Linked DNA regions of Homo sapiens: region 1 is linked to region 2. Evidence: promoter capture Hi-C in human tissues and cell types (Jung and others, 2019). All regions are on one chromosome and are shown on one strand. The core of a region is centred on a gene start or on the middle of the fragment in contact, and the rest is flanking DNA. Distances in the headings are between cores, read along the strand shown. Region 1 overlaps DNAJC17 (DnaJ heat shock protein family (Hsp40) member C17). Region 2 holds the start of VPS18 (VPS18 core subunit of CORVET and HOPS complexes).

Evidence for each region. Contacts are between HindIII fragments. The study calls those that stand out against the background at their distance.
Region 1: a contact is called between a fragment that was not itself captured here and the fragment with the promoter of VPS18 in region 2, in 3 of the 25 tissues and cell types used here (bladder, mesendoderm cells and thymus).

Annotation. Positions count from the first base shown.
Region 1 is chr15:40,781,707-40,788,750 of GRCh38, forward strand. The region is part of intron 1 of DNAJC17 (DnaJ heat shock protein family (Hsp40) member C17); the gene reads right to left. Among named protein-coding and RNA genes, the nearest start is that of C15orf62, 15 kb to the left of the region's middle. The HindIII fragment of the contact is 6,259 bases long and covers 2,202-7,044 here.
Region 2 is chr15:40,890,202-40,897,816 of GRCh38, forward strand. It overlaps VPS18 (VPS18 core subunit of CORVET and HOPS complexes), which reads left to right and starts at 4,249. Exons shown (of 5, transcript NM_020857.3): 1 at 4,249-4,658; 2 at 5,737-5,878. The coding sequence starts at 4,568. RefSeq lists silencers at 476-525, 1,794-1,843, 3,965-4,134 and an enhancer at 4,975-5,064. The HindIII fragment of the contact is 19,251 bases long and covers 1-7,615 here.

The sequences.
Region 1 (7,044 bases), core at 4,081-6,580, 110 kb before region 2:
GTCAGGAGATTGAGACCATCCCGGCTAACACGGTGAAACCCCGTCTCTACTAAAAATACAAAAAAATTAGCCAGGCATGGTGGCGGGCGCCTGTAGTCCCAGCTACTCGAGAGGCTGAGGCAGGAGAATCGCTTGAACCTGGGAGGCAGAGGTTGCAGTGAGCCGAGATCACACCATTGCACTGCAGCCTGGGAGACAGAATGAGACTCTGTCTCAAAAAAAAAAAATTTTTTTTTGTCAGGTGTGGTGGTGCATGCCTGTAGTCCCAGCTACTCAGGCGGTTGAGGCGAGAGGATCGCTTGAGCCCAGGAGTTCCAGCCAAGCCTGGGCAACATGGCAAGACCTCATCTCTACAAAAATTTTTTAAACATGAGCCAGGTGTGGTAGCATGTGCCTTTGTCCCCCTACTCAGGAGGCTGAGGTGGGAGGATCACTGGAGCCCGGGAGGTTGAAGCTGTAGTGAGCATGTTCACACCACTGCATTTCAGCCTAGGTGACAGAGTGAGACCTTGTCTCAAAAATAAAAATAAAAAAATTTTAAATTAAATTAAAATAAAATAAAAAATTAGCCAGGCATAGTGGTGCGTGCCTGCAGTACCAGCTACTAAGGAGGTTGAGGAGGGAGGATCACCTCAGCCAAGGATTTTGAGGCTGCCGTGAGCTATGATGATGCCACTGCACTCCAGCCTGGGTGACAGAGCAAGACTCTCTCTTAAATACATAGAAAGAAAGAAACCCCAATATTTCTTACATAAGTAAAAATAAACACAGCTACCAAGATTCTCTTTCGTGTGCTACCTAATAGCTGTTGTAAGTGAAGACAGTGTACACAACCCCAGAATCCGTCCTCTGCCTCCAAGGCCTTTGCTTTCTCCCTTCTGCTTGGTGTGTGTTACCTGCTGCTCAAACCTCCTGGAGGAAGAGCTAAGCAGATTGGATTTCTAAGCTTCCAAGATGGACGCAAGAAACGCTTCTACACCCAAGTGTGCTAAATAAGGACTTTCAGAGGTAAGCAGCCAGCATCCACAAGGTGAGCACCTGCTGGGCAACTCCTCCATCCATGAGGCAGCCACCGGGCCCAGGACCTCTAGGGGTGTGCTGCCACCTGCTGGGCCATAGCCAGGGCACCTGCCATGGCAGCCCAAGCTGTTTGGTTCTCCTGACTGCCTTGGAGGCAGCAGGAACCACCCAGGACAGGCGCTGGGCAGAGAGGGTGTAGACGTGCCACCTGCCTTCCCAATCGCCCACCGAAGCACATCTGCCCTGCCTGCTCACCTCCCACCCTAACCCTCCCTGCCTAGCTCTGTTTTCACTACAAAAAAGAACAATATTAAGGGAAAGGAGGTGCTAGCTTAAGACAGTGTCATCTTTGCAATATATCATCTTTACTTTTTAGGTCCCTTATCATTCGTCTTTTCTTTCTTTTGCTCTCTTTGCCTGCTTTATTGTGCCTCCAGCCTCATTCCTTTACTGAACATATTTTATATTTCAGGGCCCCTGTTTGCTTTTTTTCAATAAGTAAAACAATACCAAAAACATTATAAAGATGTTCTTTCTCAATCTCCCCAGCCCTCTGACATCAAGGTTCATTAACACATATAAAAGCACCTACACACACTGACAGGAGTCTGTTGGGTGTTTGTTCCTGGCCTCTGGGCCCCTCCTCTCTGATCCTATCTCCACCCTCTCTCTGGGATGGGTGAGAGGAAGGGAGGGGGAGGCGGTCCATGTCCCAGTATCTATGGCATCACCTGCAACACTACCTTCAAGATGAACTTCCTCAGGACTAGGACTAGTAGGCTTGCCCCAGGGATGTAGGGGGGTTTTGTGGAAGATGTTTTCTTTTGTATCATGGGGCTCTTTTAAAGTGGTTTAGGCTGGGCATGGTGGCTCACACCTCTAATCCCATCGCTGTGGGAGGCCGAGGTGGGTGGATCACTTGAGGTCTGGAGTTTGAGACCAGCCTGGCCAACATGGTGAAACTTGTATCTACTAAAAATATAAAAATTAGCCGGGTGTGGTGGTGCATGCTTGTAATCTCAGCTATGGGGGAAGCTGAGGCAGAAGAATCACTTGATTCCGGGGGGCAGAGGCTTCAGTGAGCTGAGATCGTGTCACTGTACCCCAGCCTGGGTGACAGAGTAAGGCTCTGTCTCAAAAAAATAAAATAAAAGTTTGTATGTTCCTTGTTATAAATCTGAGAGGGGGAGTAGAAGTGAGTGTGAAGAAGAAGGAGCAGGCTGGGTGTGGTGGCTCACGCCTGTAATCCCAGCATTTTGGGAGGCTGAGGCGGGCGAATCAGTTGAGGTCAGGAATTCGAGACCAGCCTGGCCAACGTGGTAAAACCCCGTCTCTACCAAAAATACAAAAATTAGCTGGGCGTGGTGGCACACGCCTGTAGTCCCAGCTACTAGGGAGGCTGAGGCAGGAACCTGGGAGGCGGAGGTTGCAGTGAGCCGAGATTGCACCACTGCACTCCAGCCTGGGCGACAAAAATAAAATTCTGTCTCAAAAAAAAAAAGAAGGAGCAGTAAGAAAGCAAGACAGAAGGGGTGTCCAGCAGTGGCATCTCCTTCATTTTCTTTCCTTTTTTTGAGAGAATGCTTTCTGAATTTTATTCTAAGGGAATGATAAATATTCTTTTGTGTTTCATAATTTATTTTGAATGTTCTATATTGGAATTTTGGTTTTTCACTGTAATAGGAAAATAAAATTATTCAAGCTGAAAAATCCACTCATATTGTCAAATATGCTTTACATATATTAACTTATTTAATTCTTAAAGCCCCTATGAGGTAGAAATTATTATCCTCCTCATTTTACAAATGAGGAAACTGTGACATAAGGGTTAATTATGATACCCAAAATCCATTCAATGAAAAGCCATACAAACATTACTTTAGGCAAAAACTATTCTACTCCAGCCAATTACCACAGAAAAAACAGTGGACACCACCCCACCCATGCCATCAAAGGCCAGGTAGAGAGCATAGACTTCCATTCTTGCTACCCTAAACCTCTGCCAGAGTGGTGTCAGATAAAGCCAAACAGGGAGGCTAGGACTTTCATCCCCAACAGATGGAAATACAAAAATATAAAAATATCTCTGGGCCGGGCGTGTTGGCTTACACATGTAATCCCAGCACTCTGGGAGGCTGAGGCGGGCAGATCACCTGAGGTCAGGGGTTGGAGACCAGCTTGGCCAACATGGTGAAACCCCGTCGCTACTAAAAATACAAAAATTAGCTGGGCATGGTGGTGGGAGCCTGTAATCCCAGCTACTCAGGAGGCTGAGGCAGGACAATCGCTTGAACCCAGGAGGCGGAGCTTGCAGTGAGCCGAGATCATGCCATTGCACTCCAGCCTGGGAGGGAAGAGTGAAAGTCCATAACAACAACAACAACAAAACAACAACAACAACAACATCTCTGAAAGAAAAGGGATATCCCCGAAAAAGCTTCCAGTCTCAGTATCGTTTATTATTAAATAATCCTACCTTATAAACAGCTGAAAGGGTTATAGCTGATATTTACTTTCTATAATAAGCTTGTATTACTTTTCAAGTGATACAAGAAAAAAACTGGTAAGAAACAAAAACAAAATTGTTTAGCTTCTTTCCACAATTCTAAGCTAGGAGGCAGCATGGTTCACTAAAAGAGGGCAAGTTCTGGAGTCTGGCAGATGTATTTTCAAATTCGGAATCTTCTACATACTGATAGCATGACCTTGGGCAAATTACTGAAGCTCACACAGCCTTAGGGACTTCAACATCAAACTGAGAAGAATAAATCCTACACACAGGGCTGCTGGAAGGATTAAAGAAAATGATCCGTGTAAGCACCTGACAAAAACTAGGTGCTTCCTACAAGTTCCCAAACCTTTCTCTCCTCTACTTCTGGAAGAGGGTAAACTGTGACACCAGGCCAGCAGGATGCCAATTGGACAGGAATTCAGGAATGGACCCTGGTCCACAGTGGATGCAGGTCAACTCCATTTGAATTCTCTAGGTGGACAGGGCTGGATTTGAGTCTGCTGTGGGGTAGATCTAAAATTCAATCCTGGGTTCACTCCCAGGGTCTCTGAAATACTCTTATTCAAGGGGTAGAAGGGATGGGTAGGTAGCCTGAGATCTTCCAGAGTGGCCTTGAATCAAAACCCAGCTGGCCTAAGAATGTTGGTCAAGTATGTCTGTCTTGATTAACTAGTTATTACTATATTTAACTGTTAAACCTGCCCTGGGCAGGGCCCATCCCTTGGTTTTAGCCTGGAAGACCAGTTTTGACTTTGAACCGGTTGGCCTAGAATTTGGTGCTTTGTACTACAAACTAGATTCCCAGCTTTGTCCAGCCCTCCTGGAGTTGACTGCTGCCTGAAGAATTTCTCACCATGTAAACACAACTCTCCTAAAGCAGGCCTTTGAAAAACCTTCCGGTCTCAATATTGTTTATTATTAAATAATCCTACCTTATGAACAGCTCAAAAGGCTAGATTCAGGGTAAAAATGTACAACAATTATTTTTTATAACTATCACAAAATTGGGAAGGAGAGGAACTTTCAGAAGAACAAGAAATAGAAGGGCCATCCTCTATAATCTTACTCCTTATGATATAGGATAAACAGGACTGCTGAAAGCCAGGTATCCCGGGTTGGAAGCTCCTCCAGAAACTGACTCTGGCCCAGGTCCAGTGGCTCACGCCTGTAATCCCAGCATTTTGGGAAGGTGAGGCGGGAGGATCGCTTGAGCCCAGGAGTTTGAGACCACCCTGGGCAACAGAGCAAGACCCCATCTCTAAAAAGAGAAAGAAAGAAACTGTGTCTGCAGGTGCTGGGATCACTGAGGCAGAGCTGAAGCAGCCACAGCAAGGTGTGGCTTTTCACTTGCAGCTTTTCTTCTTTACCTATAGGTTTCCCCTAAATCCCCTGGTCTCTCTAGCGCTTAGAAACACTTGCATTTCTGAGACTTCACAAAGGATCCAGGTGACAGTTCAAATGTTTCCAACCCAAAGTTCCCCATCCAGATCATGGCTTTTCAGAGGAGAAGCTCTTTCTAAGGCCCAGCCTCAGAAGGACGAAGATCTCAGATAAATGTAAGCTCCGTGAGTACTTCGAACTGCAATTTGCAGAAACTTGGTCTTTCTCCTGATGGCTTTCTAAAAACCTCACTGTCTACCACCCTTTTTCCATCCTAGACTGGTTGAGTTTAATCTGTTTTTGATGTCTCAGGATCATCATCCAGAACATCAACTACTGAATAGTATGACACGTTCTACGGAGAGTGGTGTCAGGCTTTTCATTTGCTTCCCTAGGTGGCGAGGATTTTAAATTCTACTCTTTTAATAGTTTTCCTATTACTTCCTTAGTTGGCCTCTACTAGACTGCCAGATGCCAGCCCTTCCCTAGAAGTGCTGCTCATCTGCTGCTTCTTTTCTGGTATGGTCTAGAGAAACAGATAAGCTGGTTATAACTATACCTTAAATGAGAGCATAAGGGTATAGGAAGGTATGGGGGTTCCCCTTACAAATAAAGTGGATGTACTTAGGAGGCAGGGAGTTCTGCTTCTCCCCAGGGTCCAGAACAGTGAACAGCACCTGGCATTCAGCAGGCACACAATAAATATCTGTTGCATGAATTGGCAAACATTCATTTGTTCTCAACCAAAACACAATCGGAAACCTCAACTATGTCAATTACTTCAGACCCACTGAGGAGCAGAAGGAAGTAGGTGCCATCCAGACCCTAGGAGATCTGACCACTATTTCACAATTTCTCCTCCTCCCTGCTAACACCTCCTCTTAAAAAACCAAGTCTGGGAAAGGGAAGGAATTACTAAAGCAGACTGCCAGGATAACCACAGTGGGAACTAAATGTTACCCCCTCATTGCCCACATCAGACAATGAATAATAAATTGGCAGCCACCCAGCCCTTCCCCGGAAGCTCTATAACCGGTTCTACCACTTTCAGCAACCTGAACCCAGAGCAGGGGAGGAGGGCTGGAAGCTGGGTCTCTAGCCACCTCCACTGGGTTTTGCCGCAAGCACACAGCAGGGCCTCTGACATCCACCTGCCTCCAGTTTCACCTCTTGATGGGGGAAGGAACTCCTGACTCACCCAAAAAAGCTAAGTGCTAAGGGATCCAATAAATACAAAATAGCCATCATTAACTTAAAAGAAAGGTGCCCTACAAAGAAGGGATCATTATTTTTTAAAAGGTTGCTGTCCTTTCTTGTAATAAAGCTTGGAGCCAGGTAAGTAAGTGGTACAAGTAAAGAGGCCGAGGCTGATAGGTTAGACTTAGATAAGGAGGACACAGAGGGAGGCAGCTCTATGTGACAACAAGCACTGAATGGACAAAGCATCCCGGGTAAATCAGCTGGAAACCCACTGCCAGGCCCAGTTCCAGTCACAGGCACAGTGAGTGATAACAGCTGGGGCAGCCACGTCTCCCCAAGCCCGGAGAGGCAGATGCCTCCCCATCCCCTCACTAGCAGGAACCCCAGAGGTATATGACTGCCTGATGTCACACGCAGGAAGCAAACAACAGAGCTCTGGGCACCTGCCTAAAAGTCCCCTCTGGCCAGGCATGGTGGCTGATGCCTGTAATCCTAACACTTTGGTAGGCCAAAGCAAGAGGATCGCCTGAAGCCAGGAGTTCAAGATCAGCATGGGCAACAAAGCGAACCCCACCTCTACAAAAAATTTAAAAATGGGCCGGGCACGGTGGCTCACGCCTGTAATCCCAGCACTTTGGGAGGCCGAGGTGGGTGGATCATGAGGTCAGGAGATCGAGACCATCCTGGCTAACACGGTGAAACCCCGTCTCTACTAAAAATACAAGAAATTAGCCGGGCATGGTGGCGGGCGCCTGTAGTCCCAGCTACTCGGGAGGCTGAGGCAGGAGAATGGCATGAACCCGGGAGGCGGAGCTTGCAGTGAGCCGAGATCATGCCACTGCACTCCAGCCTGGGCCACAGAGCGAGACTCTGTCTCAAAAAAAAAAAAAAAAAATTTTTTTTTAAATGAGCCAGGCATGGTGGCATGCACC
Region 2 (7,615 bases), core at 2,999-5,498:
CCAGGCTGGAGTGCAGTAGCACGATCTTGGCTCACTGCAAGCTCCGCCTCCCGGGTTCACGCCATTCTCCTGCCTCAGCCTCCCGAGTAGCTGGGACTACAGGCGCCCACCACCACGCCCAGGTAATTTTTTTTGTATTTTTAGTAGAGACAGGGTTTCACCATGTTAGACAGCATGGTCTCGATCTCCTGACCTTGTGATCCGCCCGCTTCGGCCTCCCAAAGTGCTGGGATTACAGGCATGAGCCACTGCGCCCGGCCTGTAAATTTTAAATTATTTCAAACAGAAAATCTTTTTTTTTTTTTTTTTAATAGAGACAAGTTCTCACTATGTTGCCCAGGCTGGTCTTGAACTCCTGGACTCAAGTGATCCTCCTGCCTCAGCCTCCCAAACTGCTGGGATTATAGGTGTGAGCCACTGCACCCAACCAGAAAATTTATTTTTAATTAAGTCAATTAAATCATTCCTTTTAATCTTGGTCTTAACTAAGTCAACAATTACTACTGGTAGTTAACTTGTATAGAGCATTTTGTATTGAGGCACAGCTTTGGGTGATTTGCATAATATGCTATTATACTCACAATACTCACCTTACAAATATAGAAACTGAGACATGAGAGAGCTCATTCATGCAACTTTTAACAACTGTTTATGAGTGAGTTAGTGAGTGTCCTGGAAGAGTGTGCCCATGGTCTGGGCTCCTCCACGGAGTGCCCTGCAGTTGTCTCATGTGCCACTGTCCAGGTTGAGCTCAATCAAGTGACCCCACCCCTCTTCACCGGGATCCTCCTCCTTGACCATTATGTCACTGCCACCATCTGCCAGGTCTCCCCAGGAGTCATCCTGCACTCTTCTGTCACTTCTCAAATCTAACTTGACACCAAGTCCTGGGGGCCCTTCTTCGGAAAGTTCTCCCCAGCCTATGTTCTTTCTCCTGTTTGGGTCCTCACTGCTTCTCCTTTGCCTCTGCTCGGGTCTCATCTGCTCTGAGGGGATCTCCACCTAAGCCACCACCCATTTTTCCAGAACCCACATCATATACTCTCTCAACCCCAACCAAAACCTTCCCATGGCGCATTGAATAACTTTGCAACCTGGCCACAGCCCGCCTCATTCCCTCCACTCCCTAGCACTCCACCGTTGTACCCCAAAATCACACTGCTTGCAGGCCATTGCTGTTTTCTTTTCCTTTCCTTTCCTTTTTCCTTCCTTCTTTCCTTTCTGTTTTTCTTTTTTTGAGGCAGAGTCTCACTCTGTCACCCAGGCTGTAGTGTAGTGGCACAACCTTGGTTCACTGCAACCTCTGCCTCCCAGGTTGAAGCGATTCTCCTGCCTTAGCCTCCCGAGTAGCTGGGACCACAGGCATGCACCACCACACCTGGCTAGTTTTTGTATTTTTAATAGAGATGGGGTTTTGCCACGTTGGCTAGGCTGGTCTCAAACTACTGGACTCAAGTGATCCTCCCACCTTAGCCTCCCAAAGTGCTGGAATTACAGGTGTGAGCCACCGTGCTCAGCCCTGCTCTTGGTTTTCTTGAGGACTGCATAATACCTTCTCTTTTTGCCCTTAGAGGTCCTACATGCTCTTCAAGTCTTAGGTCAAATTCAACTGCTTTCTTACACAGATCCTCTCTCTCATTGGCTTAGCAGTCACCTGTTACCTGTCTCATGGTAACTGCTACAATGACTCTGAGGACTAGAGGCTGGTGCGTATGTCTCTAGCTGTGAGTTCCCTAAGGCACCTCTGTATCTTCATGCTCAGAAATCACTGGGTTATTTCCTGCAGTTTCTATCAAAGCAAAATGTCCACACTGCATCATTAGGGGCCCCCAAGTGGCCAGAATAAGAAAAGCCAGCTGGGCGCAGTGGCTCGCACCTGTAATCCCAGCTACTGGGAAGGCTGAGACAGGAGAATGGTTTGAGCCCAGGTGTTTAGATGAGCTATGATCACATCACTGCACTCCAGCCTGGGTGACAGAGCAAGATCCCATCTCTAAAAAGAGTTCTGAGGGATCCAGAGAGGCTTCAGGAAGGAGGAGGACTTGAGAGAGACTGTCAGATGAAAGTCACATTTAGAGTTTATTAAGCACATGCTCCATGTTGGGCATTATACTATAGCAGTGAGCTTTCACGTGGATCCCTCATTTACTTCTCAGCACAGACCTACTAGGTAGGTATTTGTCTCTGTAGATGAGGAAACTGAAGCTAAGAGCATCAACTGTGCAGTGTCACAGCTAGCAAGTGGCTGGGCAGGGATAAGAGATACAGCTTGCCCTTGGAGATCATACATGCACTTCAAGTCTTGGGTCAAATTCAGCTGCTTTCATACAGGAATCCTCTCTTTTGATGCCCTAGCAGTCATCCCTTACCTGTCTCATTGCAACTGCCACACTTGATTCTGTGGCTCTCAAAGAATCCAAAGTCCAGCCTAAGAACTGAAGAATGAGTAGGTGGAAATGCACTGTGGTAATCAACGCATAAGGGAGACTGTACTGAGTCTGCCACAAACAGGGTCCACCCAGGCCTATCCCATACATCCCGGAGAGCCATGGAGCCCAACAATGGGGTGCTGGGGTCCCTGAGGCTGTAGCTGGAAGTACTCTGTGTCCCTAAGGCAGCACTCCTATGCTGACCTCCAACTGCTAATGGGCTCTGTGCAGCAGGGACAACCCTCTGCACAGTCCAGACCTGAGGGCAGATGGCAGGTGACCTGGGGGTGAAGTGTTATGTATGGAGCAGGGCAGCTCCCTGTCTGGGATCACTTTTCTTAGAGGAAGCCTCCTGCCTATTGTCCTGCTCCTGCACTTCCCTCCTGGGACCTGGCAACCTCAGGTGGGAAGGCTGCATTGAGGCTGCAGGCTTGGTCAAGAGAAGCAGGACCCTGGTGCGAAGGGAAATGAGCCTGGACAGCATACTTGTCACCTGCCCCAGGACTAGTGCCCCTCCAAGCCAGAGAGCCCAGATAGCCCTCAGTGGGGCTGGTGAGAGTCACAGTTCTCCGCACGTGGCCAGGAAGTTGAGCAAGAGTAACCCAACCACATAAGGTATGGTGCAAACCTGGAAACTTCTGAGAGCAAAGGGATGCTCTTAGTTGTTAGGCGGGGGCCGCCCAGCAGAGCCAGGACGGTGGCGACCCTAGTCCAGAGCCTTCCACTTTAGCAAGGTAGAATCCAAGGGCCCCAGAAGGGAACAGACTCCATCTGGGTCGCCTAAGCAGGTGAGAGAGGAAAACCCAACCACAGTCGCGCCCCAGCCCTCGCAGGTCCCTGGCTGAGGACTCCCCTCTCCACCTCAGGCTGGGCGGCCCCCGCCTTCACGCTTGCTCCCACTTGTCCCTCGTTCTTGCTAGGCTTGGCAGGTATTTGTTCCCTGCTCCTTCACGCTCTCAGTGCCGTGGCCACGTCGCTGGGTACGCCCCACCAGGCAAGAGACATTTTCCGTCTTGTTCTCTGCCACGTCCCCAGAGCCTGGAACAGTGCTTGGCACAGAGTGGACGCTCATTCGTGGAGTAAGTGCCTGATGGATAATCCATCACTTGCTTTTCTAGTATGAATGGTCTATTTACGGGTCCAGCGCCCCTGCTGGCTTACGACCTTTTCCAGGGCGGGGAGGGGCTGTCCTCATCTCTGTGACCCCAGCGCCCAGCCCAAGGCCTGGCACAGAGTAAGTGCTCAACCACATTTTGGTGAATGAGTGAATGGAAGCGGCCCAGCAACCCTGAGCCAAGGAGCCACTGTGGGGCAGGTCAGGGCGGTTCCTGGCACAGGGCTTCCCACTAGCCTGGCCACCAGCTCTGCGGTCTCCTGGAAGCTGGGGGGCCTTTGGGTAAGGGAGAAGAGTGGCCAGGAGTTGTCTGCGTGTGCCCTGTGACGGTGGGATAGAGACAGCGATTGGATTGAGGAACGGGAGGTTCCCCGAGGCTGTTTAGAGAGGCGGGAGCGGGAGCTGGTCAGGGAGGCTGGACAGACCACCCGAGGGAGCGGAGCTTGGGCACGAAAGCCAAAACTGGGCGGCGCGGGGCGGGTGGGGAAGGCCGGCTGAGAAAGCCGGGATTGCCTCCTGGTGTCAAAGCTCGGAACTGCAGCAGGATCCTGGGGGCGGGGCTTGTGTTCAGCAGCACTCGCCACGCGCCCAGCCCTCAGCCCTCGTCTCGCCTTCTGCTGGCTGGCCCGGCGACGTTGTGCGCCAGCGTACGCGGGGCTCTGAGAACCCGGAAGTTACGTTTTAGGCCCGCGTCACGGGGGCGGGAGTCAGCTGAGCTGCCGGGGCGAGGTTGGGATCACCTGGCACCGGCTGAAGGGAGCCTGTGATTTTTTTGTAGCGGGGGCGGGGAGTAAGGTGCAAGACTGCGCCAGATTCAAGGACGAGGGCTGCCCGATTATCTCGCTGCATAAGGCAAGAGCAAGAGGATCCTCAGGATTTTAAAGAGGAGGCGACGGCTGCAGGTTCCCAGGATCTGTCAGAGGCTGGGGAGTTACAGCTTCCATTCTGGGGCGACGGGGACCCCGGGGGGGTAGCCCTTTTGTAATCCCCAGGCCCCGGACAAAGAGCCCAGAGGCCGGGCACCATGGCGTCCATCCTGGATGAGTACGAGAACTCGCTGTCCCGCTCGGCCGTCTTGCAGCCCGGCTGCCCTAGCGTGGGCATCCCCCACTCGGGTAAGGAAGAGGAGGGTGCCGCTGCCCCTTTCGGCTCTCCTAGCATTTGCGTGGGAGCAGCGAGGAGGGCAGCTCCAAGAGCTCGGGGTCATCCCCTGGGCCGTGCCTTCCGGGTCTAGGCCCCTGATTCTCCTCAGGCTCTCTTGGCCCCCAGCTGGTGGATAGTCGAAGTTTGAAAGAGCAACGGGAGCTGCCGCGTGATCTAGGCTCTACCGCTAGGGTCCTTTTGAGAGGGAATTGGGGCCCAGATAAGGAATTACTCACCTACAGGGCGCAGTTGGGCTGTTGGGAGAACTTAGAATGGGCTCCCGGCTTCTGCTGATGCTTTTCCCACCAGGCCCCTTCTGGAGGTGGGAGGGAAGGAATGGACAAAGAAAGTGGTGAAGGCGGAGTATTGCAGAGGAAGAAGGGAGGGTCCCAGAGGGAATTTTGTCGCTGAACGGGGAAAATGGAGATGAAATCTTTTTGGCCTTGGCTATAGCTGGGTGCAGCCTGGAGTTTGGGGACGTTTTTGTAGAAAGTAGTGAGTCTCCAGGAGAATGAGGGCATAGGGAGCCCTGGGGAACTGTTCCAGTGAGTGGAGTTAACGAATTGGAGCTGCTTTCACTCTAGTCTTTACCTTCATTCAATGCTCAAAATATCCCAGCACTTGCCAACTCTACACTGAGGCTCATTACCGCATGGGCAGGGAGGGGGGCAGAGAATGGGGCTATACTACTTCAGTTAAGCTGGGATTGCTGGGCCAAAGACCTGATAAGGGAGAATACCCAGACCACCAGTCCCGTCCCACCTCCACGCAGCCCCATTACCAGTGGGAGCAGGTATATCATGCTGTGACAGCATCTTAAGGGTTCAAAGAATCAACCCCTCACTGCTGTCAGAGTGTGGAAAGAGCTCCAGACCTCTATTGTAAAGGTGACCAGCAAACGACTTGATATCAAACTATTTGTTAACCAAGGTCCTGGGGATAGGAATATGTCAGGAAAGTGGCGAGGAGCACTGTGGTGTTTTTTCTGCCTCTCCTTGCCCTTCACCTGTCTCTTCCACAGCTAATCTTCTTGTCATTCCTTACCTGTAGGGTATGTGAATGCCCAGCTGGAGAAGGAAGTGCCCATCTTCACAAAGCAGCGCATTGACTTCACCCCTTCCGAGCGCATTACCAGTCTTGTCGTCTCCAGCAATCAGCTGTGCATGAGCCTGGGCAAGGATACACTGCTCCGGTAATCAAGAGCTCACAGAGCTTAGGAGTAGGGACTAGAGAGGTGTTTGGGGACTGTTAACTCACTGGGCCTTTCTTCTATTCCAGGCAAGTAAAGCAGTGAATTTGGAGTTTTCAGGAAATATCCTATCCCTTTCCAAAGAGAACCAATACAGGGTAGTGGTTAAGTATCTGGCCTGGCAGGGCATGGTGGCTCACACCTATCATCTCAGCACTTCGGGAGGCCAAGACAAGAGGATCACATGAAATCAGCAGTTTGAGACCAGCCTGGGCAATATAGTGAGACCCCCGTCTCTACCAAAACAAATTTTTAAAAATTAGCTAGGTGTGATGGTGCAGTCCCAACTACTGGGGAGGCCGAGGCAAGAGGATCACTTGAGCCCAGGAGTTCAAGGCTGCAGTGAGCTGTGTTTGCACCACTGTACTCCTGTCTCTTTAAAAAAAAAAAAAAGTCAGGTGCAGTGGCTCACACCTGTTATCCCAGCACTTTGGGAGGCTGAGGAGGGTGGATCACCTGAGGTCAGGAGTTCGACACCAGCCTGGCCAACATGGTGAAACGCTGTTTCTACTAAAAATACAAAAGTTAGCCGGGCGTGGTGGCAGGCGCCTGTAATCTCAGCTACTGGGGAGGCTGAGGCAGGAGAATTGCTGGAACCTGGGAGCCGGAAGTTGCAGTGAGCTGAGATTGCACCATTGAACTCCAGCCCAGGCGACAACAGTGAGACTCCATCTCAAAAAAAAAAAAAGGAAAAGGAAAAAAAAAAAAACTGTTTAGGAGTGTAGACTTAAGAGTATTAGAGTATTGATTAGAGCATTCTTGTGGTGGGAAAAACTGGATCCATGCTGAATGCTCATCAATAGGAAAATGGTGATTAAACTGCAATTCAGCCACAAAATAGAATATAATGCAGTTGTTTAAAAAAATGAATTATCCTGGCTGGGCGAGGTGGCTCACGCCTGTAATCCCAGCACTTTGGGAGGCTGAGGCAGGCAGATCACCTGAGGTCGGGAGTTCAAGACCAGCCTGGCCAACATGGAGAAACCCCTTCTCTACTAAAAATATAAAATTAGCAGGGTGTGGTGGCAGGTGCCTGTAATCCCAGCTATTTGGGAGGCTGAGGCAGGAGAATGGCTTGAACCCGGGAGGCAGAGGTTGCAGTGAGCCGAGATCATGCTCACTGCACTCCAGCCTGGATGACAAGAGCAAGACTTTGTCTGAAAAAAAAAAAAAGAGTTATCCTGGAAAGCTGGGTTTGGGGGTAAAAACAAAAAAAGTTAGAGCTATATCGATTGACTAGTGGAATGTTCATGAAATATCATTAATTTAGAAAATTTACAAATTAAGACACATACACATATGTGCAATATGAAGGCATTTTTATAATGACAGCAACAAAACCACCCTATTTATGTTATGAGTATGAAAAAAGATGTTAACATGAATTTTCTCAGTTGGGAATAACAGGAGTTTGAGAAGAAAATTAAGTCATTCTTTATACATCTTTGCATCGATTCTTTAGTTAGAACAAGCATATAATTTGGAAAGAATTTCATAAGGAAAATATAAACAGGAGTACTTCTCAAGGTTTTTGTCAAGATTAATTGAGATAATACTAGATTGATGAAGCTCTTGGCATGGTGCTTGGTATATAAAAGTGCCCAGTAACTATGAGCTACTCTTTGTTGTTCCCTTCTTACCTCAGCAATCTGGGATATCTCTGCCTATCTTCCCAGATGC